Regions from separate parts of the Homo sapiens genome. Here region 1 is linked to region 2. Evidence: promoter capture Hi-C in human tissues and cell types (Jung and others, 2019). All regions are on one chromosome and are shown on one strand. Each heading gives the region's core, a stretch centred on a gene start or on the middle of the fragment in contact. The rest is flanking DNA. Distances are from core to core; before and after follow the strand shown. Region 1 overlaps SLC22A8 (solute carrier family 22 member 8). Region 2 holds the start of CHRM1 (cholinergic receptor muscarinic 1).

Region 1 (2,940 bases), core at 119-2,618, 72 kb before region 2:
CACTCAGGCCGCTGCCCTGCTCCTGGCAGGAGGGGCCATCTTGGCTCTCACCTTTGTGCCCTTGGGTGAGAGACTGGGGCTACCCCAGAACCCTCTGGAAGAGGCTGCCAGGTTGGGTGCCAGGGACTTCACTGCTGGCTCTGCCTCTAAGTCACTGTGTTACCTTGAGCAGGTCCCTGCACTCTCTGGGGCTCAGGGTCTCTCTTCTAGAAAATAACGCAATTGGGCTAGATGACATGAAAGCTCCTTTCCAGATCTGACTTGGACTGGGCAAAAAGTATGGTGGTATCTGGATAGTGTGAAAATTTTTGAGGTATTGAGAGTGTCCTGAGTGACATCACTGTAGAGATAAGCTGAGATGGTAAAACGACAGAGCTCATGCTCAAGAAAGACCCCACAACCTACTCCATCATGACCTTGGAAAAGCTACGTTTATTTTATATGGGTGTTAGTTGGTTGATAACACCTATACCCTTCCAAAAGAACTTGAGGTATTTTAAGACAAGAACAAGAACATATACAACAAAATATAAATGGAAATAGAGGATCAGAGGCAGGGGAAAACACAAACATAGCAGGACACAGGCATGCAAAGCATTACTCAGCTTTAAGTTTGGATCTGAGCTTCTTGGAAGCCAAAGCAAAAAGGGAGACAAGATCAGCTAAGGAGTGAGAACTCTTAGGTGCTCCTGAACTCCAAGGCCCACCACATTTTCTTCCCTCTGCAGACTTGCAGACCGTGAGGACAGTATTGGCTGTGTTTGGGAAGGGATGCCTATCCAGCTCCTTCAGCTGCCTCTTCCTCTACACAAGTGAATTATACCCCACAGTCATCAGGTAGGTGCTGGACCTGGGGCCAGGCCCAGCCAGAGGACACAGGTCAGGTGGGACTGTGGCATTGTCCTGTCCTCTACCCAGGGGAGCCATCCTTTATGAACCCCACACACAGGCTACCAATCCCTACTCTGAACCCTCGCAGGCAAACAGGTATGGGCGTAAGTAACCTGTGGACCCGCGTGGGAAGCATGGTGTCCCCGCTGGTGAAAATCACGGGTGAGGTACAGCCCTTCATCCCCAATATCATCTACGGGATCACCGCCCTCCTCGGGGGCAGTGCTGCCCTCTTCCTGCCTGAGACCCTGAATCAGCCCTTGCCAGAGACTATCGAAGACCTGGAAAACTGGTCAGTCACTGCCTCTGGCCCCATCAGTGCTCCTCCCTGGGGAAGCAGGTCTGGGCCCAGGGCTTTTCCTTAGCTCTCTGTCCCTAGGTCCCTGCGGGCAAAGAAGCCAAAGCAGGAGCCAGAGGTGGAAAAGGCCTCCCAGAGGATCCCTCTACAGCCTCACGGACCAGGCCTGGGCTCCAGCTGAGGACAACGGAACCCCCTTTCCCTGCCCTCCAGAGACTGATCCTAGCCAGGCACCTTAGGAGTATAGGGAGGCCCCATATAGGTCCATCCTCCTAGGATGAAGCCTTCTGAGAGCTTGGTGAAGGTGTCTCCATCACCACCACCAGAGCCTCCTGCCCAGCCCTGGCCAGTTCAAAGGTTCAGCCATCCCTGCCCTTGTTCTCCCTGCAACCCAGGCCCTGCCATTCTTCTGTCTAGCCCTTCCCCACTGGCCACCTTCCCCCACTGTCCCGGTCCTCTTCCCCTGAGGTCCCCTGATATCCCCTGGCTCAGTCCTAACAAGACTGAGTCTTAACAAGATGAGAAGTCCTCCCCTTCTTGCCTCCCACACTTTTCTTTGATGGGAGGTTTCAATAAACAGCGATAAGAACTCTAGCCATGATGTTCAGGAATGGGGGTGGGATGGGAGCTGGCCACCGTGTGGACACGTGAGCATGCACATCTGTCCATCCACACTTCATGTACGACAGGCCTGTGTACAGGCACCACAGGTACATGCAAGCTGGACTGATGTGAACATGAGCAAGCACATGTGAGTGCTCTGAGGTGTGTACACCACGCCTGTGCATGAAAATACATGTGTGTGTCTACACGTCCCAGCATGCATATGAGCAGATGACTGACCAAGCCCAGAGTGGCTGCAGACAGAAGCCAGAGCCCCTCCAATCCTGATTTCTTTCCCCTGATCACCCCAAATCTCTGATCTATGTCTCAGCCCCATGCCCAGCAGATAGTTTTTCTCGTGTTAACTGAGAAAACTGCAATGGTAGCTGACCGCTGTCAATATCAGAAAACTGCAATGGTAGCTGACCGCTGTCAATATCTGCTGCCATGTTCCCGGTTCCCTCCAGCCACAGCAGAACAGCCAATCCCTCCACCAGCAGCCATCCCTTTCCCTCTGGGGTCTCTGCCCATTCCCTCTGTCTTGGCTGCCGCCCATCACCAGTTAAACAAGCTTAGGCTTCTCCCAACTTAACAAAAATCAACACAAACACATGCCAGGATGTTGTATCTCCTTCCAAGGGCCACACTGGCTCTTTCTCCCCTTCGAAGCCAGACTTCATAAAGGAGCTGTCTGCCTCCCCTGTATCCACCTTCTAGCCTCATACATCTCCCCCACTGCACTCCGGCTCCTACCCCTTCCCTCCCTGGAACCGCTTTCACCAAGGACGCTCATCCCCTCCCTGTGCTGGATCCATAAGTCACTCTTCAGCCCTCCTCTTACTGGCCTTTTGGCAAATTTGGTCCTACTGGTCACTCTCTTCTTCCTTAGTTTCTGAGAGGCCACGTGTTTGCAGCTCCCCCCCACACACTGGCTACTCCTTCTCAGGCCCCTCTGCGGTATCCTATAAATGCTGCAGTGTTCACTTTGCCTATCCTGCCCCCACCCCTTTTCTAAGGATCTGCATCCCCGGAATCTGCCAACTGAACAGTTCCATAATCTGCCATCTCTGGTGGTGACCAACTAGACCACAGGGCACTCCAGATCCAAATCTCATTTATCACATACTCTCTCCTGGGCTAGGATTTGA
Region 2 (3,042 bases), core at 20-2,519:
ACACAGCAGCCCCAGAAGGCAGTCCCTGCAGCCTCCAACTCTCCTCCCCAGTCAGCTCCCGGGGAGGTCTCTAGGGCCAAACAGAGGCGGTGCAGGACCCACATCTCTAGGGCAAACGGCCCCCCAGGGGTTCTATCTCTGAGGAAGCTCAACACAGAAGTCCAGACCAGCCTGGCAGGGAGGGATGCTGGCCTCACCCAGTAGGGCTGAGGGAGATTGGGAGGAGGGCTCATCTCCTCCCAGGTACACACCTGTGAGCCCTGAGTGGGAGTCAGGGGAGACAGAGCTTGACAAGCTGGGAGGAGAGCTGTCTGTCTGCCTGTCTGTCTTCCAAGTGGAAGCTTGGGGTGGAGCAGGCAGGTAGAGGCTGCCTCACTTGTCAGAATTAGCAAGTTCCACAGTTGGGCAACACTCAGCCACACATCAGATACAGACACACGTGTGCACACGCGTCCTGCCTCCAGACTGATAGGGTCACACCTGCACTTACACAGGCTGCATGGTGACATGAGTACACAGGGACACACATATGCAAGGCACTCAGCCGCACATGGGGCAGGCACCTGGCCCTCTACTCATCCCCGAAAAGCAGACACCCATATACCCTCACAACAGGCTATGCATAGCCCAATGCTAGCGCACACAGCCCAGCATGCGGGCACGTTCACTCAGCCCCCGGGCGGGTGCGCCAGCCCTCTGGGTCTGTTCCAAGTTGGAGCCTCTCACGTGAGGCCCAATGTGTCATTTCCAAACAGAAGGAATCTAGCTCTCTCACAGCAGGGAGGAAGAGCAGGGTGTGTAGTTGGGTGGGTGGGTGCGTGGGCATGTGCAGGGGGGAGGGCGTGTGTGCGAGGGAAGCAGGCATGTGAATACCAGGGCATGTGTGTTGGGGCATGGTGCACAGGGGCTGGGGGCTCTAAGGTTGGGTGGGGGGAGGAGCCCAAGGAAACAGTGTGCCTTTGTGAGGGTGTGTGTGCCGCCGGGTCTGTGCAGTGGGTGTGGGTGTTTGTCTCCCTGTATCCGCCTTCTCTCCCGTCCGGGACTTTTAGCCTTCCTGGGCTCGCCTTCCTCATGTCCTTTCTCCTCCCTCTTGGGGCTCAAATTGGGTGCCCTGGTGAAGGAGGGGGGCACACTCCAGAACCTAGTCCAACCCCAGACGCTGCCTGAGGCTTCCCTCCAGCTCCCCTCCCTTCCTTTTCTCCCTTTCCTCCCTCCCTCTCTTTCCCTTTCTCCCTCCCCGCTAAGGCTGGCGTGCCAGGGGGTGGGACATGCCAATCACTGGCTGTGCCTCTCCCGCTGCCAGCACAGGGCGCAGCTCCCCCTGGGAGCCAGGTGTTTGGGTCCCTGGAGACGCCGCAGGCCCCCAGGGAGGCAGTGGGGCTGAGGACCCTACAGACCCCTCTTCAGCCCCGTGGTGAGTACATTTGGGAGGGCTTGGGAGGGGCTGCACTAAGGTAGAGGGTAGGAGGGTCCTGGGGAGCGGGGGAGGGCAGGGATCAGGATGAGATGGAAATAGGGATGGACTCACAGAGATAGGAGGAGGCCAGGGAGGGGTCTAGAGGGCAAGGGGGCTCTGTAGCATTGAACACTGACTGCTCCAAACACTCGGCCTCCTGGCTTTGAGTGGATATAGCTGATGTTTTTCTGGGCTTCTGCTGGCAGAGGAGATGGAGATCCCCCTCAGGAAACTGGACCTGAGGCCCAGAAGGGATTAGGCTGCCTGGTAGCAAGCAGAACCCCCAACACCCTAGGGGCAGAGTGGGAAGGGCAAAGGGCCAGGAAGCAGCCCTTGCCACCAGCATCCTGTGGGAGGTTGACCCCCATCTTGATGGGGGTGCCAGTCCCAGAACCTCCTGTCCTCCCTCAGGGCACCCTGAAACCCACCACCCCCGTCCACCTCAGCTCCCCCAAGATGGACTGAATCAGGCTGCTGGCCAGATAGAGAAGCTAGAAGCCAAGGTGGGTGTCAGGCCAGAAGCCAGCAGGAGACCAGGCAAAGAGCCCCAGGGCTCTTTGGGGACAAATGGGCATGTGGGTGGCCACACTAGCCAGGGAAGGTGGCCCTGACGTGCGCAGGGGCCCAGAGGACCCTCCTTATGTTTCTAGTATCTTGGGCTCCCGCAGGGTGGGTCTCAGTCCTATATCCAGGCAATGCATGGATACCAATGGGCACCCACGCCAGGTACTCACCCCAGTGCCCGCAGACTGCACAACATGGGGATGGGCTAGGGGCCAGGAACTCTGATGCTTGTAGAGTTGTCAGCTCCTGGGCAGGCCAGCTGGGGAGGGGGTCGTCAGCTCTCATTAGGTCATCCAGACATGTGCAGCTTAGAGGTTATCAGAGCCAATGGAGAGGGGTTCACATCTTTGCACAAAACACACCTGCAGCTCCACCCAGACTGACCCAAGACCCCTGCCCAACTGGCTGGAAGGAGTCAGGCAGTCTCCAGTAGCCAGACAGTCTCCTTTCTCAGGGTAATCAGCTGTTCAGTGGGCTGTCAGATGAGAGTTCTCTGCCCTCTGACCTCAGCCACCAGGCAAGCTGCAGTCGCTATCGCGGCTGAGATATGAAAGGGAAGGAGATAGTGAAATGGGCTGCAGAAGATGTGGGTCTTGGCTCGCAGCTGACAGCTGGCGGTTGGAGTTCTGAGAACTGGATTCTGAAGTGTAATGGGGAGTCCAAAGTGTCAAGAAGGGGCTAACCAGAGGTCATGTCAGACCTAGAAAGGAGGCTTTCTATTGTATGGAGGGACTGAGGCTGAGAAAGGGAAAGGGACATGCTCATGGTCGGAGAAGGGATATGTAGGGATCCAGCTGGGGCTCGGACCCCTTCTCCGCATCCTCAGCACAACACTGCGCTGCCGCCTCCATGAGCAGGAAGATGGGGTGGGAGAGCAGGGGGCGCAGTAAGCTCTGAGACGCAGAAGCTTGGGCTCCCAGCAGGCGGGGAGAGGTGGGTGAATTGCGCTGGGTTTCTGCTCTGCTGTGGTGCCATGGTGATGCCTACAAGGATGGAGGAGGGAGGGAGAGAGAAGAAAGGAA

The links. Contacts are between HindIII fragments. The study calls those that stand out against the background at their distance.
Region 1: a fragment that was not itself captured here is called in contact with the fragment with the promoter of CHRM1 in region 2 in 2 of the 25 tissues and cell types used here (spleen and thymus).

What each region holds. Positions count from the first base shown.
Region 1 is chr11:62,991,667-62,994,606 of GRCh38, reverse strand. It overlaps SLC22A8 (solute carrier family 22 member 8), which reads left to right. Exons shown (of 11, transcript NM_004254.4): 8 at 1-65; 9 at 729-837; 10 at 980-1,183; 11 at 1,271-1,783. The coding sequence ends at 1,370. Among named protein-coding and RNA genes, the nearest start is that of SLC22A6, 8.2 kb to the right of the region's middle. The HindIII fragment of the contact is 7,404 bases long and covers 1-2,940 here.
Region 2 is chr11:62,919,590-62,922,631 of GRCh38, reverse strand. CHRM1 (cholinergic receptor muscarinic 1) reads left to right here and starts at 1,269. Exons shown (of 2, transcript NM_000738.3): 1 at 1,269-1,414. It overlaps LOC105369333 (a long non-coding RNA gene), which reads right to left and starts at 2,472. Exons shown (of 5, transcript XR_002957251.2): 1 at 2,191-2,472. RefSeq lists an enhancer at 411-945. The HindIII fragment of the contact is 6,896 bases long and covers 1-3,042 here.